Regions from separate parts of the Homo sapiens genome. Here regions 1, 2 and 3 are each linked to region 4. The links are contacts of gene promoters, found by promoter capture Hi-C in blood cells and fetal thymus (Javierre and others, 2016). All regions are on one chromosome and are shown on one strand. Each heading gives the region's core, a stretch centred on a gene start or on the middle of the fragment in contact. The rest is flanking DNA. Distances are from core to core; before and after follow the strand shown. Region 1 overlaps LOC105370532 (a long non-coding RNA gene). Region 2 overlaps MAX (MYC associated factor X). Region 3 overlaps SGPP1 (sphingosine-1-phosphate phosphatase 1). Region 4 holds the start of AKAP5 (A-kinase anchoring protein 5).

Region 1 (3,067 bases), core at 481-2,980, 820 kb before region 4:
CTAATTTAGCGGTATTTCATTTTTGTGTCTAGCAAAAGTAAAACCATTAATAAATACCAAAAACTTGCTGAGTAGACTTTTCGCTTTCGAAAAATTTTAATATTTTTTTCCTATTTTACATGTAATACAAACTTTCGACTGTAGAAGAAAAAAACATGATTTCGGATGTATGTAATACTTCTACACTTCTAGATTAAAATTAAGTACACTTTACAGAATTAAAGCTAAGCAAAAACTGCGTTCATTACTGATGCTTGTAATTATTGCATTTTTGTTTAAAATATCGAATTATTTTTGTCATTTTTGTATCTTATTTCTAAATGATTAGAGAAGGTTTCAGGTTGTTTGTAAAGGAAACATTACCGATTTAGCTCTTTGTTTTGTTTTGTTTTGGAGACAGGGTCTCGCTCTGTCATCCAGGCTGGAGTGCACTGGCAGGAGGTGGGATCATGGTTCACTGCAGCCTCGACGTCCTGGGCTCAAGTGAGCCTGCCACCTCAGCCTCCTGAATTGCTGAGACTACTGGCACACGCCACCAAGCCCAGATTTTTTTTTTTTTTTTTTTTTTTTGAGATGGAGTCTCGCTCTGTCGCCCAGGCTGGAGTGCAGTGGCGCGATCTCAGCTCACTACAACCTCCGCCTCCCGGGTTCAAGAGATTCTCCTGCCTCAGCCTCCCAAGTAGCTGGGACTACAGGCACATGCCACCATGCCCGGCTAATCTTTTGTATTTTTAGTAGAGACGGGGTTTCACTGTGTTAGCCAGGATGGTCTCAAACTCCTGAGCTTGTGATCCACCTGCCTCGGCCTCCCAAAGTGCTAGGATTACAGGCGTGAGCCACTGCGCCCGGCCATATTTTTTGTGTAGACAGAGATTCGCTATGTTGCCCAGGCTGGTCTCGAACTCCTGAGTTCAAACGAGGCTCCTGCCTCGGCTTCCCAAAGTGCTGGGATTACAAGCTTATGCTCGTTTTTATTCCCAATAAATGAAGAGCGAAATTGGGTGTAAATCATCGATATATTTATCCTTGTAATATTCTATGTGATGTAGTAGGTGAAACATATGGATGGGTGAAGATGACTCTGGCAAAAATGCAGAATTATATTTTTAATGCTTTTCATTAGCTAGCATTTTAATGGTATTTTCCTTTTGCCTCTTATTTTAAATCAGTAGTTCATTTAACATGTTAATTAAATGTCATATAACTAAGAATAAACACCATTAAAAACTGAATCAAGGCTACTGTGGTTAGCGCTGTTTAGCTGAATGATAGATCAGCTGAGTGACTAAACTGTGGCCACATTTGGCTGATTTAAATTCTAAGTGTTCTCTCAGCACTTTTGGAAGCTTCTAAAATGTTTCATTTGTTTATTTTTGAGACAGAGTCTCCCTCTGTCACCCAGGCTGGAGTGCAGTGGCACAATCTCGGCTTATTGCAACCTCCACCTCCCAGGTTCAAGCAATTCTCATGCTTCAGCCTCCCGAATAGCAGGGATTACAGGCGCGTGCCACCACACCCAGCTAATTTTTTCTATTTTCAGCAGACACTGGGTTTTGCTATGTTGGCCAGGCTGGTCTTGAGCTCCTGGCCTCAAGAGATCCACCTGTCTTGGCCTCCCAAAGTGCTGGGATTACAGGTGTGAACCACTGAGCCGGCCAAAATGTTCTATTTTAAAGAAAAAAATTATTATTTTGAGAATTTAAAAAACATATTTAAACAGGCACCATTACTACCTTTAACAGTGTGAACCTGTGAATCATCTTTGTACTCTGTTGGGAAATAGTTTAAGAAGTGAACTCAGGCTGGGTATGGTAGTGCACACCTGTAATCCCAGCAGTTTGGGAGGCTGAAATGGGAGGATTGCTTCAGCCCAGGAGACAGAGGTTACAATGAATCATCATCTCAACACTGCACTCCAGCCTGGATGACAGAGTGAGACCCTGTCTAAAACAAAACTAAACAAAAAAAAGAACCAAGTAAACTCAAAGTGAGATGAATGAAACGACTCTTGAGATGCAGGAAGAGAATATTAGAACCCTTATTTGTATGTCCTTTTTATTCTCAACATTTTTCTTTACATTTCTGTGTTTTTAAATTTTTTACATATAACAATATAAGCTTTTTTAAAAATCTTTTTTTGTTTGTTTGTTTTTTGTTTTGTTTTGAGACAGAGTTTCGCTGTTGTTGCCAAGGCTGGAGTGCAGTGGTGTGATCTGGCTCACCACAACCTCTGCCTCCCGGATTCAAGCGATTCTCCTGCCTCAGCCTCCCCAGTAGCTGGGATTACAGGCATTCACCACTATGCCTGGCTAATTGTATTTTGAGTAGAGATGGAGTTTCTCTATGTTGGTCAGGCTGGTCTCGAAGTCCCGATCTCAGGTGAGCCACCATGCCTGGCCCTTTTTTTTTTTCTTTAATAGGGGCAGGGTCTCACTATGTTGGCCAGGCTGGTCTCAAACTCCTGGCCTCAAGTGGATCCTTCCACCTCGGCCTCCAAAGAGCCAAGATTACAGACATGAGCCACTAAGCCTGGCCATTTTTGCAATGTATATGTAAAAATATATATGTATTGAGTAAGTGGTAAAATTTTTTTGAGAAATATGTGATCAAAACCATATTTGGAGTTGGGACATGACAACTGCAATTTGAAGATCTTGTGGGGAGAGAAGTCAAAGAAAAAAACACAAATGTTTTAGTTAGTATCTAATATGAAAGAATGGTATTGGCCAGTTAGCTCAGGTGGTTAGAACTGTGAAAAGAAAATAATCTCAGGACCCCAAAATCACTAAGCCAAAAGGAAAAGTCAAGCTGGGAACTGTGTCGGGCAAACCTGCCTCCCATTCTATTCCTCAATGAGATAGCTGCAAGGATAAAACAACTGCTTACCTCCTTCATCACAATTTGCCACAAGGAAATTCCTTGTGGACTTCCTCCCTACTTCAAGTTATTCCACCTTTCCAGACTGAACCAATGTACATTACATATATTAATTGATGTCTCGTCTCCCTAAAATGTATACAACCCAGCTGTGCCCTGAACACCTTGGGCACATGTCCTCAGGACCTCT
Region 2 (2,847 bases), core at 20-2,519, 630 kb after region 4:
GTGGCTGGATGCTGCCCACTCTTCTAGTACGCTGGATTTGTACGTCTGGATGTCTGCCAGAAAACCCTTCCTCCAGGGCATCCCTAACAGAAATACTAAGGGGCTATGCAGTGGTCCACAGATGCTCAACAGAAACTCCCGCACCAAATCACTTCCAGCTTTGACATCTCTGCCAAAGTTTTTATTCAGCCTCTCAGTTATATTTCTACCCAACTTTCCACACTGGTAGACAGAATAAAAATCTTCACCTACAATTTGTCCATCTTTGACACTACCAAGCACGTGTATCTTAAGTGTTGTTAGATGTTGAAGACAAACATTATTTTGTTAGCCAAGAAGTTGCTATGTTGGCAAGAAGTCATCTAGGCTAAGGAGGTCTGTTCAAAATTGAGGGAAATCTCTTAAAATTATTTCCTTCCAACTTACTGCAGAGAGACTGCATCTTTGTTCAAGGCATCACATCAGTCAGTAATCTTATTTCCTCCAAGTTCTAGGCAAATAGCACGGGGAAATAAATGCTTCATTATTCCAGGATGCACAAGGTTCTCCAGAACAATGCCATGTCTTACAGGCTACCTGACAGCTAACCCCACCTATAAGGGGAACCATCTCAATTCTAATACAGAAAATTCTCAGCATATAGGGAATTAGTTGCCCACTCAATATTTACTACCTTTACAAAATGTGAAGGTTGTATTTTAGAGGGAAGCTTGTGTTGCTTATGATTCTTATCAAGCTATTCTTATTAGAGACTAAGGACACGAGAATACACAGACCCAAAAATCTCATCCGAAAAGATCTATTTCTTACTTCTGATAGATAAGAACAAGATAGGATAAAGCTCAATTTCTAAGCAACTTAAAATATTCATTTTAATCAACCCAAAAATTATAACATAAAATAATAGGCAGGTAGGATGGGATAAACTCACCAAGCTCCCTAAGAGAAAGACATGGATTTCAATTTTCCAATACCTGTCCTGCTTGTAGCTGATTGCCTGGTATACATTTCCAACATTATCTAATGTATGTATTTGTTTTCAAACTTTTTTCTTTTGGTGCCTAAAATAACTGGCAAATGCTATAATCCAAACAGGGCCTCATACTATAGCCATTTCAGAGAAGGATGCCTTGGTCAGGAAATTTTAATTAAAAACCAAGCTGAATTCTTTGACCAACTATTTCACCGTTACTGGCATCTTGGAAAAATTCTTTTAGACATAAGAACAACTTTTACCCTAACACAGGCACATTTAGGAACTAACTCTGGCATTTGTTATCACTGTAAGCATCACTGTCAACACTCTAAGCAGAGAAAAAGTACATGCATTGTGCAGCACTTTTGCCATGCAACTGACTGCAGGTAAAACAGACAGTAGTTTCCTGAGTGAATTCCAATCTCGGAGGCTACCAAGCTCGTTCTCTTCTGAATATTCCTAAAGAAGCAAAGAGCTCTGAGAAGTTAAAAATATTTCATGCCAGAAAGGTCCAGAAGTGGAATTGCACAAATCTGTTTTCAAACCCCTCACAAGTATACTGCAACTGCAACTCAGTCAGGTGCCATCAAGGATGGTCACTGGAAAAAAAATTGCATTTCCTGACCAACACACTAACCCATACATTTCCTGTATACTTACACTCTTTCCTAAAGAAATTTCCCAAACAGAAATAAAGCAAAAGGAAGCCCTTGCAATATAATATACCTGTCCCACAAATTTATCTTTAAAATGCAACCTCTTCCCTCCAAAATATAATAAAAATAACATCAGTGGGATTTTGCGATGTACTGAATTTAGTAGTAAGAATACTCTTTGGGGTTACTTCCTTTAACAAAGCTTACTGGCCATTGGAGAAGCTGTTTTCCGTTTGTACTGAAGCAATAGAAAAAAATATTTGCCAAATCAGTTTCACTTTCTGTTAGAGTTAGCCTAACTTCCTAACTCTCTTCTCAGTATCTTACATTTCTCATGTAGTAAGGCCTATATATTGTAGTGACATTATAAAACATACATGAATGTTTTTATATTAGGATCCACAGAACCCTTTTCAAATAACTTTTTCAACATCTTCTGTAGTCCTGAATACCTAAGTATTTGGTTGTTCACAGTCCACATCTTTTTTTAAACCTTTTTTCTAAGGCAAAACTTAAGAATAGCTCCCTCTTAAATTTTAAAAAATATATTTATTATCCATATTAAATATTGAGAAGTAAGCAGATGCATTCACAGAGGGGAAAAAATGGAATCCTTTTTACCCTACACAGTCACAATAGTTGTTTGATATACTATAAAATTTGTTTATAACATATCTGCTTTTTCTCTCCATGCTGTTGTAATTACATTGTGCAGAGTAATATTTAGAAATATCAACAAATAGATGTGTTAAATTAAAAACAAAGTGTCAAACCAACTTCCTTTGCCTACCCCCAAAATCAAAAGGAAAAATCCTAGGCACCTTAACAGCAAACTAAAAACATCTAGACAAAACAATGAGATTAGCATTCCAGGAAAGCAGAAACATTATAATAATTTAATAACAAATTTATATCAACGATCATATGGATGAAAATTTTGAAAAGCAGAAAGCTTTCAAGAACTGCGAGCCAAAATTTCACCAAAAAAACAAACAAACAAACAAACAAACAAAAAAAACACAACTTTCTCTTACTGGGAAGTCAGTATAATTTCAATTCAAAGGATAATTCTGCAAAGGAAGGCTAAACGATCCTTACCCTCCAGCTCTGATCAAGCCCTAGCACAGATTTTACAACTGGAGACTTGCAGGGAAAAAAAAAGTTTTCAACAGACTAGGCCCCAAACATGAAGGATAAAAGTAAATGTGAAAAAGG
Region 3 (2,895 bases), core at 162-2,661, 760 kb before region 4:
AAAAAAAAAAAAAAAGTCAACTTTAAAAAAATCTTTCTGCACTTCCTTCTCTAACTTGGACCCTATAAGGAAGTAGAAATGTACAAAATTACTGATAAGAGTTCTTTATACACAACAAACTGAAGAAAAAATCACCTATAGAGTCTCAGAAGCTAGAGGTGAAGGTAGGACGGGGAAGGGTAGAGATTTTAAATAGGAGCAATGAAACCAAGTATGACTTAACCCACATTTATTCAATTTTACGATGTCCAAGGTGTTTAAAAAGGAGAGATGGAATGTTATCAAGCCAGATGCAGAGGCTAAAGAAGCTATGAGGCTTTCCTTTTCTCTGCTCCATGGCACCTTCAGATTTCACTGGGATGAGGTGACTAAAGAAAACAAAATAAGTCATTTTTATTGACCGACTTTTTTTGGTCATTACTCTCCACCTTTATGATATGTTCTCTAGATTTTTTTATGGAAAAAAAATATTTTGGGGCCAAGCATGGTGGCTCATGCCTGTAATCCCAGCAGCACTTTGGAAGGTCGAGGCAGGCTGATCACTTGAGATCATGAGTTTGAGACCAGCCTGGCCAACAGGATGAAACCTTGTCTCTACTAAAAATACAAAAATTAGCCAGGTGTAGTGGCACGCACCTGTAGTCCAAGCTACTTGGGAGGCTGAGGCATGAGAATCGCTTGAACCTGGGAGGCAGAGGTTGCAGTGAGCCGAGATTGCGCCACTGCACTACAGCCTGGGTGAAGAAGTGAGACTCTGTCTAAAAAAAAATTAAAAAGAAAACATTTTGGGGAACACTTGATCCAGTTCTGACTACATGATGACTTTCATATTTACTCCCCATTGAATAACAGAATTCTGAACTTCTAAGTGTCAAAGTAAAAAAGAATTTCATCAGTAAGCAGACAAAAAAGACTACAGATCTTAATGGCTAAAGGAAATAACAGATAAAGTGATATTTTTTTTTACTGTGCCTAATTTATAAATTAAACTTTATCATAGATACATATGTACAGGAAAAAAACAGTATATATAGCGTTGACTACTATCCACAGTTTCAGGCACCAATGGGGGTCGTGGAACATATCCTCTGCTGATGAGCGGGGCTACTATACCCCCATTCACAGACGAAGTGATCCTAAAGATAGAAAATCCCAAATAATCCATGAAGAAAACATATTAGAATTAATAAATGAATTCAGCAAAGTTGCAGGGTGTAAGATCAACACTCACAAATCAGCTGTGTTTCTACATACCAGCAATAAAAAAAAAACCCTAAAATGAAAGTAAGAAAAATAATTCCACTTTCAGTAGCATCCTAAAGAATAAAATACCCATACCTAGGAATAAACTTAACTAAGGAAGTGAAAGGTTTGTCCATTGAAAACTATAAAACATTACTGAAAGAAATTAAAGACCTAATTAAGGCCAGGCACAGTGGTTCATGCCTATAATCCCAGCACTTTGGGAAGCTGAGGTGGGCGGATCACAAGGTCAAGAGATCAAAACCATCCTGGCCAACATGGTGAAACCCTGTCTCCACTAAAAATACAAAAATTAGCTGGGCGTGGTGGCGCGTGCCTGTAGTCCCAGCTACTTGGGAGGCTGAAGCAAGAGAATTGCTTGAACCCGGGAGGCAGAGGTTGCAGTGAGCTGAGATTGCACCCCGGCACTCCAGCCTGGCAACGGAGCAAGAGAGACTCCATCTCAAAAAAAAAAAAAAAAAAAAAAGACCTAATTAATGAAAAGATATCCCATGTTTATGGATTAGAAGACTTAATACATTAAAACTTAATATGTTAAAATGGCACTATTATCTAAAATGATCTATAGTCAATGTAATCCCTATTTAAGTTTTTTTTTTTTTTTTTTTTTTTGGCGGCAGGTGGGGAGTGGGGTCTCGCTTTATCACCCAGGCTGGAGTGCAATCTAGCAGTGGTTCAATCATAGTTCACCATAGCCTCCAACTCCTGGACTCATGTGATCCTCCCAATGCAGCCTCCCATGTAGCTGGGACTACAGGTGTGCACCACCATACCCTGCTAATTTTTTAATGTTTTATAGAGATGGGGGTCTCGCTATGTTGCCCAGGCTGGTCTCCAACTCCTGGGCTCAAGTGATCCTCCCATTTTAGCCTCCCAAAGCACTGGAATTACAGGCCTAAGCCACCATGCCCAGCCCTTCTGTCAAAGTTCTAATTGCATTTTTGCAGATACTGAAAAGCTGATCCTCAAATTTATATGGAATTGCAAAAGGTCCTGAAGAGCCAAAACAATACTAAAAAAGAAGAACAATGTGGAAGGACTCATATTTTCCAATTTCAAAATTTACTACAGTATTCAAAACAGTGTGGTACTGACATAAGGTCAGACATATAGACCAGTGAAATAGAATCGTGGGCCCCAAACTAAACCCATATACGTATGGTTAACTGATTTTCAATAAGAATGCCAAGACCATTAAATAGGTAAAGAATAGTCTCTTTAACAAATAGTGCTAGGACGTCTGAATACCTACATGCAAAATGATGAAGTTGGACTCCTATCTCATACCATATATACACTCAAAATGGGTCAACAACTTAAATATAGCAGCTAAAAACTTTTAGAAGAAATCATAGGGGCCGGGTGTAGTGACTCACACCTGTAATTCTAGCACTTTGGGAGGCCAAGGCAGAAGGATCGCTTGAGCCCAGGTGTTCAAGACCAGCCTGGACAACACAGTAAGACCCTGTCTCAATAAAGAAAGAAAATCTTTAAAAAAATTTTTAAAAGAAAACACAGGGATAAATCTTTATGACTCTGGATTAGGCAACAGATTCTTAACTATGACACCAAAAGCATGTGTAACAAAAGAAAAACATAGGTAAACTGGAATTTCATCAAAATTTACAAATT
Region 4 (2,968 bases), core at 72-2,571:
ACCATACGTGCACCACCATGCCCAGCTAATTTTTTAGATTTTTTTGTCTCCCTATGTTGCCCAGGCTGGTCTCAAACTCTTGGACTCAAGCCATCCTCCTGCCTTGGCCTCCCAAAGTGCTGGGATTACAGGTGTGAGCTACTGCGCCCATCCCTGAATTCTTAATTACAACTAAACTAGATGCTTATGGATTTTCCTGTTTTACAACTCTTGCCTCTTTTATCTGTAATTTTAAGATCTTGACAGCTTATATTTGGCTTTGCTTTTGTGTCTCAAGAGTTCTTTCCTTGATAAGCCTCTGTGGAAACTACAGAATCTTACAAATATAAAACATTTCCGGAAAAAATACAAAAATGGACACCTGACATTTACACTCCCTAAGGTCGTGATCCTGTTGAAGAAAGGAGATGAACGCGGCTGCTTTTCAGTAGTTCTTCACTTCACCTTACCAGGTTCTTCATCTGGATGCTATGCTATGGGGGCCAGAGGAGGAGGCTGGGATTGTGATGGATCCTACTAGATTTTACAGCTGGAGCTCCCAGGAATGCCCTCATAGGGAATGTCCTGAAGGGAATCATGGGTAACTTGTAAGCTACCTCAACTTATTTTTGGAACTATGTAAGGTATAAGATGGATGGAGCTGGGTTCCTGTGCCTTTCTCACCTTGTCCGCATAGAGATGCAGCTGCTCCTGCAGGCCAAAGTTCTGCACCAATCACCTCCACCTGCTTCCCACTGGGAGACAAAGGTTTGAAAGCCTGTTTGGCGATGAACCACGATGATCTGACACTCAAGCCACTCCTGAGAAAGTCGGGTTTCTTTCTGTTTCCATTTATATATGTAATTTTCGCTTCAAACAAACATGACCTCGCTATTCTATGCACAGTTTTGAATCCTGCTTTTAAAATGCGATGTCTGCCTTGTCTTTAAATATTCTGAGGGGGAGGAGAGGAGATGTGTAATGCGACTGTCTATAATTTGAAACCGGACCTCACTATTTAGCGTCTCAGAAAACGCGGGGTTCATTGCCCTGGTCCCCCCCGCCTTCCCCCGCCCCCCGAACCTTCCGGCTGGCTCTCTTGCGGTCCCCGCCTCGGCGCTGATGTGGTCTGGCAGTGGAGATTGGCGCCCGGGCGGAGCACGATGGGCTTCCCCGCGGCAGGCAGGCAGGCTGCTGCTGCAGGTGGGTCCCGGCGCCCGCGCCGCCCCGCGCCTCCGGCGGTCGCCCCGCCCCTGCCCGCCCGCTCCGCTCCGCTCGCATTGGCGCTGCCTGCTGTCTGTCCCCGCGCGGTGGGGAGGGGGCGCACCCGGCGGCGGGCTCTGCAGAGGGCGCCTTGCTCCGGGTGCGACCGCGGCTCCCTGGAGGCCTGGGCGGCGGGCCCCGCGAGCGCGCCGCCACCTCGGGAGCAGTGTTGGCCAAGGACCCCGACGCCCTACGTAAGTAAAGGCAGGGCGGGGAGCCTGCGGGGGAGGAGGGTCGGGGGCAATGTCCGGTCCGCGGACCGCGGAGTGGGCAAGAGGTGCCCACTGGATACGGGGTATCCGAGCCCTCTGAGGTGCTGGGAGTAAGAACGCGGGAGGTCGCTTGTCCGCTGGAATCCGCGGCCAGGGCGACCCTCATCAGGTCTGCCCACCTATCCCCTTCGCGTTACAGCTTGTCTTAGAAGCATGGGTTGCCGGTGGCTTTTTTCCTTCTTTATCCCTCTTTGAGAAATGTGATTTTGGGTTTCTGGCCATTACATTATAATTCTGCAGACAGCCTGAAGCTGGGTTATCTGTTCCACGCCCCCGGCATTTTCCTTTTTGAGTACTTTATCCTGCGCTCTGTCTCCTGCCATAAGGGGCGTCAAGCCAGAATTCGAGATTCCTTCCTCCAGGAGGAAGCTTCGTGGTCCGTATCTGGTGCTGGGAAAGATGCATTGCTTTCCTCGGGTACTGGCTGCTCAAGGGAAAAAGGAAAGGGGGTGTTTTCTGTGACATGAGACTTGCAATTCCATCAGGAAATGAGCACAGGGACTTTAAGATTTCCTGAGGCGATAAAGCTACCCTTGCTGGTTAAGAGCGAATCATTTGCAGTCTGACATTCTGCAAAGTTTTATTGTCTACAGACTGCATTATTTTCCCTCGTTAGTTAAGTTTCTGTTTGGGTATTCGTTTTATTTCTAGTATGTGAGATACATTCAAGTGAGCTTCTCAAACGATTGTCTTTGCGCAATCCAGGTTAGTTTCCAATGACAGACTCCTAAACATCTCATTTCAATATTTCTATTATGTGGTAATACAGCCTCTGCTTAACAAAAATGCTCAGGTGCTGAAAACTCACAAGAGGTGAGAAGATTTAAACAGTTATCAGCTTAGGTTCTAGTGCTCACTGAAACATTGTGAGGAGAAACACTGTCAAATGTTCATATTTTAGTTCCGTCATTGTTCTAGAATGACTTTATCTTTCTGTTAGAGGCACACAGTATGAAACACCCAACCTAAGATAATATTTACTTAGATCATAAACTGATTTTCAGGGTTCCAGTTCCTTCTACAGTTCATAAAATTATGGGTTACCCAAATGAAACTTCAGTGAAGGATTTACATAAAAACAATATAAAGAATGAGTCCCTTTGCTTATTTTAGGGCATCCACCCACTAAAATTCATAGGATCTTTGTTGGATAATCACCTCCCATTTCCATTCTTTGGTGCCATCATACCATTCTAAGGATTAAATTTTCAATACACCTTTATATTATCTAAGTTTGCCAATTGCATAGTTTGCCAACTTATTTTTGGCTTTTAAATTAGTTCCTGAACCAAAAAAATAAAATATAAAGAATTTCAAAAGCTTGGTTTTCAAATGACAAGAACTCAGTCTACTCGTGGTTCAATTATGAGTTGATAAGTGCCTTATGGTTAAATGACCATTAATCAATTTTTTAATTTTTTTACTAATGAAACACTGCAGATTAGTATCCCCAA

The links. The method cuts DNA at HindIII sites, captures the fragments that hold promoters and counts their contacts. A CHiCAGO score of 5 or more calls a contact.
Region 1: a contact is called between a fragment that was not itself captured here and the fragment with the promoter of AKAP5 in region 4, in 1 of 17 cell types (M2 macrophages). The highest score is 8.2, in M2 macrophages.
Region 2: a fragment that was not itself captured here is called in contact with the fragment with the promoter of AKAP5 in region 4 in 1 of 17 cell types (M2 macrophages); the score reaches 5.1 in M2 macrophages.
Region 3: a fragment that was not itself captured here is called in contact with the fragment with the promoter of AKAP5 in region 4 in 1 of 17 cell types (M2 macrophages); the score reaches 5.3 in M2 macrophages.

Annotation. Positions count from the first base shown.
Region 1 is chr14:63,643,106-63,646,172 of GRCh38, forward strand. The region is part of intron 1 of LOC105370532 (a long non-coding RNA gene); the gene reads left to right. Among named protein-coding and RNA genes, the nearest start is that of WDR89, 2.8 kb to the left of the region's middle. The HindIII fragment of the contact is 772 bases long and covers 1,345-2,116 here.
Region 2 is chr14:65,096,918-65,099,764 of GRCh38, forward strand. The region is part of intron 2 of MAX (MYC associated factor X); the gene reads right to left. Among named protein-coding and RNA genes, the nearest start is that of MAX, 4.2 kb to the right of the region's middle. The HindIII fragment of the contact is 1,125 bases long and covers 708-1,832 here.
Region 3 is chr14:63,701,949-63,704,843 of GRCh38, forward strand. All of the region lies in intron 1 of SGPP1 (sphingosine-1-phosphate phosphatase 1), which reads right to left. Among named protein-coding and RNA genes, the nearest start is that of SGPP1, 25 kb to the right of the region's middle. The HindIII fragment of the contact is 4,906 bases long and covers 1-2,895 here.
Region 4 is chr14:64,464,178-64,467,145 of GRCh38, forward strand. It overlaps AKAP5 (A-kinase anchoring protein 5), which reads left to right and starts at 1,322. Exons shown (of 2, transcript NM_004857.3): 1 at 1,322-1,436. It also overlaps a transcript of ZBTB25 not described here. RefSeq lists silencers at 1,117-1,516, 1,527-1,596. The HindIII fragment of the contact is 7,002 bases long and covers 1-1,881 here.